Linked DNA regions of Homo sapiens: regions 1 and 3 are each linked to region 2. Evidence: promoter capture Hi-C in 16 types of primary human blood cells and fetal thymus (Javierre and others, 2016). All regions are on one chromosome and are shown on one strand. The core of a region is centred on a gene start or on the middle of the fragment in contact, and the rest is flanking DNA. Distances in the headings are between cores, read along the strand shown. Region 1 overlaps PGK1 (phosphoglycerate kinase 1). Region 2 holds the start of P2RY10 (P2Y receptor family member 10). Region 3 holds the start of TAF9B (TATA-box binding protein associated factor 9b).

The links. The method cuts DNA at HindIII sites, captures the fragments that hold promoters and counts their contacts. A CHiCAGO score of 5 or more calls a contact.
Region 1: a contact is called between a fragment that was not itself captured here and the fragment with the promoter of P2RY10 in region 2, in 4 of 17 cell types (non-activated CD4 T cells, total CD4 T cells, naive CD8 T cells and 1 more). The highest score is 6.4, in non-activated CD4 T cells.
Region 3: a contact is called between the fragment with the promoter of TAF9B here and the fragment with the promoter of P2RY10 in region 2, in 8 of 17 cell types (naive CD8 T cells, neutrophils, naive CD4 T cells and 5 more). The highest score is 10.1, in naive CD8 T cells.

Annotation. Positions count from the first base shown.
Region 1 is chrX:78,119,588-78,122,682 of GRCh38, reverse strand. The region is part of intron 6 of PGK1 (phosphoglycerate kinase 1); the gene reads right to left. Among named protein-coding and RNA genes, the nearest start is that of PGK1, 17 kb to the right of the region's middle. The HindIII fragment of the contact is 7,637 bases long and covers 1-3,095 here.
Region 2 is chrX:78,943,250-78,948,115 of GRCh38, reverse strand. It overlaps P2RY10 (P2Y receptor family member 10), which reads right to left and starts at 2,725. Exons shown (of 4, transcript NM_014499.4): 1 at 2,621-2,725; 2 at 253-301. The HindIII fragment of the contact is 3,107 bases long and covers 2,682-4,866 here.
Region 3 is chrX:78,138,122-78,142,902 of GRCh38, reverse strand. TAF9B (TATA-box binding protein associated factor 9b) reads left to right here and starts at 3,253. Exons shown (of 7, transcript NM_015975.5): 1 at 3,253-3,342; 2 at 3,979-4,060. The coding sequence starts at 3,292. RefSeq lists an enhancer at 3,255-3,564. The HindIII fragment of the contact is 21,206 bases long and covers 1-4,781 here.

The DNA of each region.
Region 1 (3,095 bases), core at 278-2,777, 820 kb after region 2:
CAAAAACTCAATCCATTTCTAAGAAATCCTTTTAAGGTATGGCTCCAGACATCAGTGTATCTTTTTAAAAATTCCTCACCCCACTTACCATCAATACATTTTTTTTTAATTCTACCTAGAAGCTGATGGACAACAGATTTAAATCCATATTCTTTTTTTAAGCAGGGCTCAGAAGACCTACTCTTGTCTAAGGAAACTATGGGTTCCACATCTATTTTGCACATTCCCCAACACACACACACACACACACACACACACACACACACACACACAAATTCAGAGCATCAAGATTGCTAATTGTATCTAAGCACGATTGCTAATTGTGGGATCCCAGAGCCACTCAGAATTATCCTAACCTTAGAGCAGGGATTGACTGGACTGTATACTAAATAAATATATACTGAACAAAAATATATATTCCTAAAGTCATACCCTATGCTCAGTTGCTGGGACATTTTTTTCTCTCTCTCTTTTCAACACAAAGTCTCACTCTGTTGCCGAGGCTGGAGTGCAGTGGTACAATCATAGCTCACTGTAACCTGGAACTCCTAGGCTCAAGCAATCCTCTTGCCTCAGCCTCTCAAGTAGCTGCGACCACAGGCGTACAACACTACCCCTGGATAATTTTTCTTTTTAAATTTTTTTGTAGAGACAAGGTCTCACTATGTTGCCCAGGCTAGTTTCAAACTCCTAAGCTCAAGTGATCCTCCTGCCTTGGCCTTCCAAAGCACTAGGGTTACATGCCTAAGCCACCATGCCCAGCCTGGGACATTTTCTTTATGGCATTTATTTTTATTGGGTCACCCAATTCAACACATTTACTGGGCACCTACTCTGTGCCAAGCACTATTCTAGGTCTTTGAGAAACATCACAGGGCAAAGGCAACAGAAAGATCCCTACCCTTTGGGATCTTATTTTCTAGTACATGGAAATAAGATAAATACACATGTATCTTGCATCTCCCTATGAGACAAAAAAGATCCAAACTAAAGAGAAACAAAGTAATAGCCTGCCTTCCATAAACATTCCCATATAACTAAATCCCACTTACGTGGACAAACCACCTTGTGTCTGTTTCCTTCTTCATTCAATAAACAAGATAATGCCTATCCAGTGAGAAACCCTATGCTAGGATTTGTGAAAAGGAGGTATGAAACAACAGTGATGTGGGTGAACAGATGGCAAGAAACTATTTACTATTTATTTCAGTTGTAAAGATTGGTTACCACCAAGGGTAAAGATAGATTGTTTTAAATACACACACACACACACACACACATACACACACAAAGGGAAGAAAGCAGTTAGAAAGGAGTTCAATTTCTTCTAAAGAATAGCTTACAGCTCAAATGCCTGTTTCTTCAACAAATCAACAGAATGAAAGTAATAAATAGGAGATTATTACAAGAGATACCTAACAGCCAAAGGCAATGCATGGACTTCATTTGAATCCTTATTCAAACAAACCAACTGTAAAAAGACACTTCTGAGATGATCAAGAACATCTGAATACAGATTGGGTATTGGATGATAGTAACAAAACTGCTAAATTTGTTAGGTATAATATGGTGATTATTTAAAAGAAATCTGCTTAGCAGTTACAAGATGTATACAGGAGTATTACAGGTTGAGTATCCCTAATCCAAAAATCTAAAATCCTCCAAGATCAAAACTGTTTGAGCTCAAAGGAAATATCATTGGAACATTTCAGATTTCATATTTTCAGATTAGGATGCTCAACTGGTAAGTACCATGCAAATATTCCAAAATCCAAAAATAAATCTGAAATCCAAAACATTTATGGTCCCAAGCATTTCAGATAAAAGATACTCAACCTATGTAAGTGAAAGTATATGATGTCTAAGGCTAACTTAAAAACATTCCTGACAGCAGGGCACAAGCTCACGCCTGTAATCTCAACACTTTGGGAGACCAAGGCAGGCAGATCGCCTGAGCCCCAGAGTTCGAGACCAGCCTGGGCAACACAGTGAGACCCTGTCTCTACAAAAAGATTCAAAAATTAGCCAGGCATGGTGATGCATGCCTGTAGTCCCAGGTACTAGGGAGGCTGAGGTGGGAGGATCGCTTGAGCCTGGAAGGTCAAAGCTGCAGTGAGCTGTGATCATGCCACTGCACTTCAGCCTGGGCAGCAGAGTGAGACCCTGTATCAGAAAAAAAAAAATCTATATATAGATCTAGATCTAGATATATAGATATGTCTATATATCTAAAATATCTATATATGTACACACACACACACACATATATACACATATTTATTTCACTTGTATTCACTTTGTCAGGAATATATACGTGTGTGTGTGTATATATATGTGTGTGTGTGTGTGTGTACATTCCTGACAAAACAGAGTTAGGACATAAAAGAAACAAGATTAGCAAAACTGTCAATTAATTGTTGAAACAGGGTAATGGATACCTGGGAGTTTACTACACTATTCTCTCAACTTCCATACATATGAGTGTTTCTTACAATAAAGTTTGTTTAATAAAATATAAAAGTTTTCCCAAAAACTGTTAATGGCCTAGGGAAACTACACTACAAGAAAGGTGGCAAAAAAATCTCACATCCAATTCCCCGTAACAGCTATTTCAGTCTGAACCTAAAAACCTAACCATAAGGTAGCACTAGGTGGCACTCACTCCCATATTCCAGGTCTACAGAAAGTTGAAGAACAAAGCCCAGGAATAGATACCTTTTTCCAAGAACAAGACACAACAACCTGTATCTACCTGAGTTATTTTTAAGACTCTGAAACTGGGCTCATAAAGCCTAGAAAGCAACTGTATTAGCCCATTTTCACAATGCTATAAAGGACTACCTGAGACTTGGTAATTTATAAAGAAAGGTTAAATTGACTCACAGTTCCGCATGGCTGGAGAGGCCTCAGGAAATTTACAATCGTGGCGGAAGGCAAAGGGGAAGCAAGTCACATCTTACATGGTGGCAAGAGAGAGGCGAGCGAGGGTGGAACTGCCAAACAACACTATCACAAGAACAGTATGGGGTGAACCGCCCCCTTGATCCAATCACCAGGTCCCTCCCACAACACGTGGGGATAATTCGAGATGAGAT
Region 2 (4,866 bases), core at 1,476-3,975:
TGTTGGGCACTTAGTACTTGGAAAATGTCAATGTGATGGAGCAGATTTTTCTACAAGTCCAGGGTCTGGTCCCTAGGAAGGCAAGTTCACAGTAACCTTGTAGTGAAATGTTTACGTTTCTCAAAGGGAACCTTGGGTTTAAAAGATTGAGAAATGCCAACTGAGTGTCATTGTCACTGTGGAAATTAGATTTCAGAAAGTTTTATCTTTTGTCTTGCATTTTCTCATTTTTAAAAAAGGGAAATTACTTACAAAGCATTTGCCTGTGGTCTAAAAGTTGAAGCTGTCATGATAACATTACCTGAAAGAAATATAATGGCAATTGGGAAAGGATACTCAGTTCTCTTGGAGATCTGAACTACATTTCCAGAATGTCCTCTCTAGATAGATTTCCCTATTATGGCCCCATTATTCACCACTCCATAACATTTAACTATTCTTAGGTATCTAACAGTCTAACTCAAATCATTGGATTGCTAGGAAGGAAATTAGGAACCATCTATTCCAAGCCCTCTCCCATTATAATAGATGAGATTATTGAGATGCACAGAAATGAAATAACTCACCGAAGGCCACACCAGTCATTGGCAGAACTTGAACTATAACACAGACTTCTGACTCCTTATGTATTGATCTATCTATTTGATCACTCTACCTGTGATGTATATGAACTGATACTAGGAGAAAACTTCTCCACAAAATATACTGATCTGAAGAATAAATAAACCTTTTTGCCAAAAGCTTTTAAAATAAATCATAGACCACCGGGGAACCATTGCCCTGATTGTTAGTGCTTTTAGAAAGTCTCATTTTACTATAAACAGCTTTGTTCTCTTTGCTTGAGCCATGACAGAGAGCTATAGTATAGATAGGCAGCCTATCTTTTTTTTATTTTTTTTTTGAGCCAGAGTCTTGGTCTGTCTCCCAGGCTGGAGTGCAATGGCACAGTCTCAGCTCACTGCAACCTCCATCTCTCGGTTTCGAGCGATTCTCCAGCCTCAGCTTGCCCAGTAGCTGGGATTACAGGCGCCTGCCACTGCAACCAGCTAATTTCTGTATTTTTTAGTAGAAACGGGGTTTCGCCATGTTGACCAGGCTGGTCTCGAACTCCTGACCTCAGGTGATCCACCTGTCTCGGCCTCCCAAAATGCTGGAATTACAGCGTGAGCCACCAAGCCCAGCAGGCTGGCCTGTCTTTTAAAACCCCAACTCACTTATTTCAAACCAAAACAACCCATAAATGTGTTTATTCATTTGATGTCTTCAGATTTGAGTAGTCTGTACAACTTGAACTCTACAACTTTCCCAGTTGAGCCCCAAAATAAACTGCATTTGGCCAAAGAATCTGTGTTCAACAGGAACCATTGCAAAAACAATTGCCCCAAATGTGTGATCTGATTCTGACTGTAGTTTACACCATTTTCCACCTCAGTATATCTGCATATCACCTACTTTCATAAGTGGTTAATTTTACTGTGCTGCAATTGCTAAGAGATAGATTCTCCAATTAATATACATCATAATGACTCCACACATCCATTTGAACAACTGAAATAAAAATATTCTCACTTGCAGGATTCTTGGAACTGAGCCTACTCCCCTGGAAAGCACAGCCAAATCTGGTATCATTCTATCCAGCCTTATCCTGGTTCCAAATGATTTGGCACAGTCTCCCTTCAGGGACTCCTTAGCTGAAAGTCTCCTTTTGATTTAGTCATCTTAGCTCAGAAGGAGAGAGGTGCTAGTATTCAGAGTAATAGCAATAATAACTGAAAAAATGAGTGCCTCACTCATGGGCTTTGCTATCCAGTAAGGCTGAACTTCGGTCAAAATTAGCTTTCAAAGGATCAAGGAACCACTCTGACCAGACTCTGAAGTCATCTGGGATACTTTCTCCTTTCCTATCCTAAAAAATGGCAGGGTCACAAATAAATTTACAGTATTCTCTGGGAGATGCAAACTGCTGTAGGAAAAGGCAAACATGAGTTTAAAGACACAGGTCCTAGATCCACCTATACCACTAACAAGCTGAGTGAACCTAAGTGTCTTCACTTCACTGGCTCTCAGTTTTCCTGACTGTATTGTGAGGGATTTGGATCTCTATGGGCCCTTTCAGCCCCCAGAATCTATTACCCTGCTTTCTACTATTTGTCTCAGTATCTCTGAAAGCTAAATTTTCCAAAGCAAGGATTTTATACCCAAAAATCTTCCTTCACGATGCAGCTAGATAAATTATACACCATAAAAAATTAAATTGACTTTTATTGGCCGAATATGTCAAGTTGTCCCAATGAGTCTCACTGAATATACTCTTCTTACCACTTTGTGCCATCTTCTCTGGTCCCACTCTCTAAAGAGCCCTCATCAAAGAGTGAGCTGCATCACAGACTCCATGCTCCTGGCATAATGAAGAGGACTGATGGCATTAACGTTAACTTTGGACTCTGGTCAAACTCAACAGTAATTATCTTTGCTCCTGTTGTAAGATGTCTGAGATGAGAAACCAGTGACAATTTTAATACAGACACTGGCCCCACATCCACCTCTGTTCTGATTTTTATGATCACACCAATCTTCCCACATGAAACCACCAATCCCCAGGTGCTAGGCATTAACTTACCCTGGAGCTTAGCTGGGATAAGCACTCTTGTTTCTTTGCAGGGAGTAAAGGGTAGAAAGCTTTACTCTGGCGGCATGGATCCTGCTGATAACTGACACATTTGTTGTTGAAAGAGGAAGTTGAGTTTATCTGGTGTCTCACCACAGAAACCTTATTTGCACAAATGAAAGGTAAGTCCCTTGAGCAAATGACGTTACTCAAATTTTATTTCTTTTTATTTCATTGGTGCAGAGAAATTCAAATAGCAGGGAGTCAGAGGCTATGCATACTCACACAATGGCTATATAACAGCCTTCCTCACCCTATCTCCTTCCTTGACAACCGACATATCTAGATTTTCACTGATTCCAGTAGGTTCCATGGTAAGATGAAATTTTCAGGAAAATCTAAAGAGTGTTTACCTAGTAACAAGAAAGCTACAGCTTGTGCAAGCCTGAGGGGCAAAGGCTGAGGAAACCTAAAAAATACAAGTCAAAATTAGAAACAGTAGAAGTACCTTTGCTTAAGTTGTTCCCTCCATCTGGAGTGCCCCTCTCCCAACCCCTTCATCTTGAGGCTCACAATTTAACACATAGTTTCATTATTTTTGTATATTTATTATCCCTTTACTAGACTGCACACTGCTTGAGGGTAAAGATCATGTCTGATTCATATCTGTATTCCCAATTTGTCCAGCACAAGGCATTTTCATGAATTGTTATTGAATGAATACATATGGGAATTAATAAATAAACAAATGCTCAAAGAATGCATGAATAAGTAAATGAACATTATTGATTACGGGGTCTCCCTCCAGTGTACTAAAATTCTGGTTTTTATGTACAGTGTATATGGGGCCTTCAAAACTATGTGAATACAGGAAGATCATACACTTGAGGACTACAGTGTCAACTAAGTCTGAGAGTAGTTTTGAGAAACGAGGTTTAAAATGCAGCACAAACCCCTGTTGGCGTGTAAGGGAAAGAGAAGCTGACAGTATTGGAAACTAAGAGCTTGGGATGATTGATGGAAATGTCATAACTTGTGAAGACTGGCATCATCCTGGCTGATGTATGTCAAATGAAACAAGTTTAGCCTTTCAATCCCCTTCTTAATTTTGATTTCAAATGTTTATTCAGCTCCTATCTTTTGTTAATTTAGGTTTCTGAATTGGCATCCCTACTGAAAAGAGAATACACTGACAGACCAACACACATCTCAGTCCATTTGGCAGTTGTGTTCCTCCCTATGGTTAGTGTGAGCCAGTTTTCCTAGGGTAAGATTCTTCTCTGAACAAACAAAAAAATTCCAGACCTGTTGAGCTTTGAAGGCAAACCCTGGGATCCAGAAATACAAGAAATCCTTTTCTTACAACTGGCTATGATCACCACATCCCAACTTTATTTCACAGACAAAACCTTCACATTGCGAGAAGGAAACCTACCAGTTTACTTCATTTCTGTCTTGCACGCAAGCAGCTTCTTCTGTCACTGACCCTAAAAAGGGAAGAAAAATAAAACCAGAAGTCAGTGTCCCAATTCAAATGAAAAATTTTAACTCAGGTAAATTTTGAGTGTTAATTATTGATATGGTTTGGCTCTGTATCCCTTCCCAAATCTCATCTTGAATTGTACTCCCATAATTCCCACGTGTTGTGGGAGGGACTTGAAGGCAGTTCATTAGAATCATGGGGGCAGTTTCCTCCAGTTTCCTCCATACTATTCTCCTGGTAGTTAATAAGTCTCATGAAATCTGATGGTTTTATAAGGGGTTTCTGCTTTTGCATCTTTCTCATTTTCTCTTGCCACTGCCATGTAACAAGTGCCTTTTTCCTCCCACCATGATTCTGAGGCCTCCCCAGCCATATGGGACTGTTAAGTCCAATTAAACCTCTTTTTCTTCCCAGTCTCAGGTATGTCTTTATCAGCAGCATGAAAACAAACTAATACAATTATAATGAACAAATCTGTGGAGAAACAAAGCAAGCTGATAACCTAACAGTCATCTCCAATTAACTTTTAAAAGAAAGTCTTTTTGTTACTAGGTACGACTTATGGTTTACAAATCATTATAAACTAAAACAAAGTAATAAGTACCCTAATTATAAGATTCTTAAAAGTAGTGCAGTTGTACTATTTTACCAATAGTTCTAAATTCTTTCCTTATTCTTATGTATGTCATCAAAGTTTACTTTAAATGATGAATTATGTCTTCCATAGGCTGGGGAAAGTTTATGATTTGGTGCTTCAAAGGCTTTAAATTCTCTC
Region 3 (4,781 bases), core at 2,004-4,503, 810 kb after region 2:
TGGAGCTGAAGGCCATTATCCTTGGCAAACTAATGCAGGAACGGAAAACCAAATACCCCATGTTCTCACTCATAAGTGGGAGGTAAATGATGAGAACTCACGGACACAAAGAGGGGAACAACAGACACTGGGGCCTACGTAACGTTGGAGGGTAAGAGGAGGGAGAGAATAAGGAAAAATAACTATTTGGTACTAGGGTGGCAAAATAATCTGTATGACAAACCCCTGTGACACAAGTTTACCTATATAACAAACCTGCACATATACCCCTGAACATAAAATTTAAAAAAATTTTAATGTGGTACTTATATGCAATGGAGCACTATTCAGCCATAAAAAAGAATGAGATCCTGTTATTTGCAACCACATGGATGGAACCGAAAGTCATTATGGTAAGTGAAATAAGCCAAGGACAGAAATACAAACATCACACGTTTTCACTTATTTGTGGGATCCAAAACTCAAAACAATTGAACTCATGGACACAGAGAGTAGAAAGATGGTTACCAGAGGCTGGAAAGGATAGTGGGAGGGTGGAGACGCAGGTAGGTTTATGTGTACAACAAAATAGAAACGATGAATAAAACCTGGTATTTGCTAGCACAACAGAGTGACTATAGTCAATAATAACTTAATTGTAAATTTTAAAATAACTAAGAGTGCAATTGGATTGCTTGTAACACAAAGGATAAATGCTTGAAGAGATAGATACCCTATTTTCCATGATGTGATTATTTCACATTGCATGCATGCATCAAAACATTTCATGTACCCATAAATATATACACTTACTATATACACAGAAAAATTAAAAATTAAAAATATATATAGATAGCCGTTTGTCTTATATTTACATTCCTTTTAAAAGTCTTATATTTCTGTATATGAAGAATACACAATACGACGTACAAAATTTAAATGTGCAAGAGTTAAATTGTTGAGGACAGAAATATAATGAAAAATATTGTCAGATTTTCTCACACATATTATTTAACTTATCCTACTATTAATTACTACTAATGGCCACTGTTTAGTCCTAGTGTTTTGTTTAAATAGCACTTATGTAACAGAAAATAATACATAAAAAACATATAATTTCAAGTGAACACTTATTCTTAAGTAATGATACATATGGACAATTATTTATAATATGTTATGGGTTTTCTTCATCTAGCACATCTATGTCCTGGGTTGGCTCTCTGAAGGTTGGCCACCCTAAGACTATAGTACCATTCTAGTGGGAGGAAAAATATATAAACAAGATACTATTTGTAAATTGCACAGAATAGAAACTGATAAACAATGGTGCCATCTGTGAAAGTGACATCAGTGGCTGGAACAGGTGAGAGAGGCTTTCTTTTACTAGGGTATTTTAAAGTAGTCTTAAATGTTGTACCTTGCAAATATACCACGTATTTTTATTTTATTTTATTTCTTTTTCTGAGATGGAGTCTCGCTCTGTCGCCCAGGCTGGAGTGCAGTGGCGCAGTCTCGACTCACTGCAACGTCCACCTCCTGGGTTCCAGCGATTGTCCTGCCTCAGCCTCCTGAGTAGCTGGGACTATAGGCGTGCCCTGCCATGCCCGGCTACATTTTGTATTTTTAGTAGAGACAGGGTTTCACCACATTGGCCAAACTGATCTCAAACTCCTGACGTTAAGTGATCCGCCCGCCTCGGCTCCCGAAGTGCTGGGATTACAGGCGTGAGCCACCGTGCCTGGCCCCCACCTATTTTTAAATGTACCTTGCAAATATTCAAAAGCAAGGGACTGTTACTAGTTTTACACAGAGGTTGGCCACAGTAAGAGTGGAGAAAGGCACTAGCTCAGCGTGGGAGCACGTGCTCTCACTGGAAACAATGTATTGAGAACACATGGTTCTTGGTTGGGGGGAGTTCCTGCCCAAACTTCAAGATGGCGGCCAGGTGGACTGCTGATTCTGATGAGTCTGATGAGGTGAGCTGCGCCACAAAACTGAAGGACCCGCTAAGCCTGGGAAATTAGTATGTATTTGTGTAAGTGTTTGTGAGGAGAGCCACTGGAGGGTTTTAAGGAAAATAATGATTGGATTTATGACTGAAAGGTCCGTCTAGCTGTGTAAGGAATGTGGGGGGACACTATTTGGGGAGCATATTTCTGTAATCTTGGTAAGGATGTTGGCTTGGACTCGTTAGCATAGTAGCACTGGATGGAGATGTGGAGACATGGATAGAACTTTGGGAGGTCACCCGGACAAGACTTGTTGCTAGGTTGAGTGTGGATTGTGAGGGAAAGCGCCAACATGGCTGCCTGCTCCGTTTCTGGCCTGGGTGAGTCACGGTTCCTGTTCCTGAGGGAGAATCCTAGGGCGTTGGTGGATGTGGAGGGTAAGAATGAGTTATCTGCGACATTTTAAGCCAGAGATAGTTAACTGATGCACATTTTTTGAAAGTCACTGGGGCTGGATGGTAGGTTCTCACGAAAAGTCATTCGGGCTGTTCTGTGGGTGAGGGGCTGGGAAGGGTGTAACTGGGAGGCAAGGAAGGGTCCTGTGTTGGCCTCAGCGGGGAGACAGGAAGCTGCTCCAGGGCCAAGAGAGGCTAGAGGGTCTCTAACGGGCCGAGTGAAGGCTTTAGTTTTTCATCAGTGTGAAATGGGCAGCCACGGTAGGGCTTTGAGTGTGACAAGGGCTGACCAAAGTCTTGCTGTGGGGAGAGCAAGCTATTGGGTAGGATTGTCAGATTTAGCTAATAAAAATCCAGGACACCCGGTTAAATATGAATATCAGAACAATTATTTCGTAGCATAAGTATGGCCTGTGCAAATCTGGGATATACTTATACTAAAAATGTATTCCTTGTTGATGTGACATTCAAACGTAACGGGTCCAACTGTGTTGGACCAAGCAGCCCTAACACCGACTGGGTCTGGAATTCCGGGAGGCCGAAAGGGGCAAAGGTGGTAGCCGTGGAGGTGTGAGGAGGGACCCCCGCAAAGGTGAGGTTGGCCCACTTGGTGCCCTTTGCCGGGAAACAACTCTGGGAAGTCGAGCTTCTCGGCCCCTCTACTTCTTTCAGGCCCCAGCAGGCTCCATGGGGAAGGATTACCTGCCTCTTCCAATACTGAACTCGGGCACCCCAGCGCGTCTCTTCCCCTGGCCAGCGGCTTGCTGAAACTCCCGCCCCCGGCGGCTGGCACGTAACCCCGCCTTCCGTTTCCCTCCTCCCGCTCCCCGCAGGGGTGGAGCCTGAGCGAGGAGCCCGCGAGCTCTCCTCTCTCCTCTGTCTCCGCGGATGACGAGTGGCTGGATAACATGGAGTCGGGCAAGATGGCGCCTCCCAAGAACGCTCCGAGAGATGCCTTGGTAAGTGCGAAGGATAAGCCGCGGATCGCGAAGCCAGGTGCAGCCAGGGACCTGCGAGGCGGGGCCACGCTGAGGGCCTGAGGGTCGGCTCGCACGCTCGTTTCAGTCTAGTCAGGGCCGTCAGGAGGAGAGGGTGATGGGGATGCGCCCTGGCCCCCGGGCCCCTATCTCGCCGCTTGGGCCAAGTCTTGCCAGAGGGTCGCGGTCCAGTGGAGCTTGCGGAACGGCTGCCCAGCTTTGTGTCCTGGGCTTCGGGCCCCTGCCTCCCCCTCGTCTCTAGCTATCTGCCAGCCCTGACTCCGCGTCCAGGGTTCTGATGCTACCTTAACCCGCCGCCACAGCCAAAAATGACAACCAGCTGGAGCTACTTACCTCTGCTGGAGAAGCCAAATTCTGTCTTCTCTTTGCCCCACACCCCGCCCCCAACCCCGCCAAAAAATAAAAATAAAAGTTTTCTGCAAAAGCGTACTATGCGATTTCGTGTGATCACTGACTCACTTGGGAGGGCAAGGGTGAGTAGGACTTTGGAGCCCAAAGAAGGGGAACCTTGTATCATAAATATAAATACTACCCTTCAGTGCAGCCTTGATTTCCAGTACCAAATTCTGCATCTGGTGTTTTTATTTGAATCCACAGGTGATGGCACAGATCCTGAAGGATATGGGAATCACAGAGTATGAACCAAGGGTTATAAATCAAATGTTGGAATTTGCTTTCCGTAAGTTAATGAAACACCAAAAACTTGCCTAACTTGTGAACTTGAAAAGATATTTTTATTGTAAGAACATTTTCTTTTATTTTCTTTTTTGAGACAGGGACTCGCTGTTGCCCAGGCTAGAAGGCAGTGGCGCGATCTTGGCTCACTGCGGCCTCCGCCTCCTGGGTTCAAGCGATTCTTGTGCCTCAGCCTCCCGAGCTGGGACTACAGGCACTTGCCACCACGCCCGGCTAAGTGTTGTATTATTAGTAGAAAGGGAGTTTCGCCATATTGCCCAGGCTGGCCTCGAACTACTGACTCAAGTGATCCCCCCATCTCGGCCTCCCAAAGTGTTGGGATTACAGGCGTGAGCCACCGCACCCAGCCTTGTAAGAACATTTTCAACCAAATTATGTTAACAGTATCATAGAATTCAGCCTAAAGAACGAAAGGAGCTCAAGCTAGGGGACAGTAGTATTCACACTGTGATATCTGTTTAAAACTGATCATATAGACAGGACAATTACTTATTAAAATCAGCATTTAGGCTGAGCACAGTAGCTTACACCTGTAATCTCAGCACTTCGGGAGGCTGTCGCGGGGAGGCCAGGAGTTTCCTGGGCAACATAGCGAGACCCTGTCTCTACAAAAACCCACAAAATTTATAAACCGTCTACAAATTAGTGGAAAGTTTTATTAAGACAAGTAGCCATAAATATTAAGCTGTCTTCATATGTTTAAG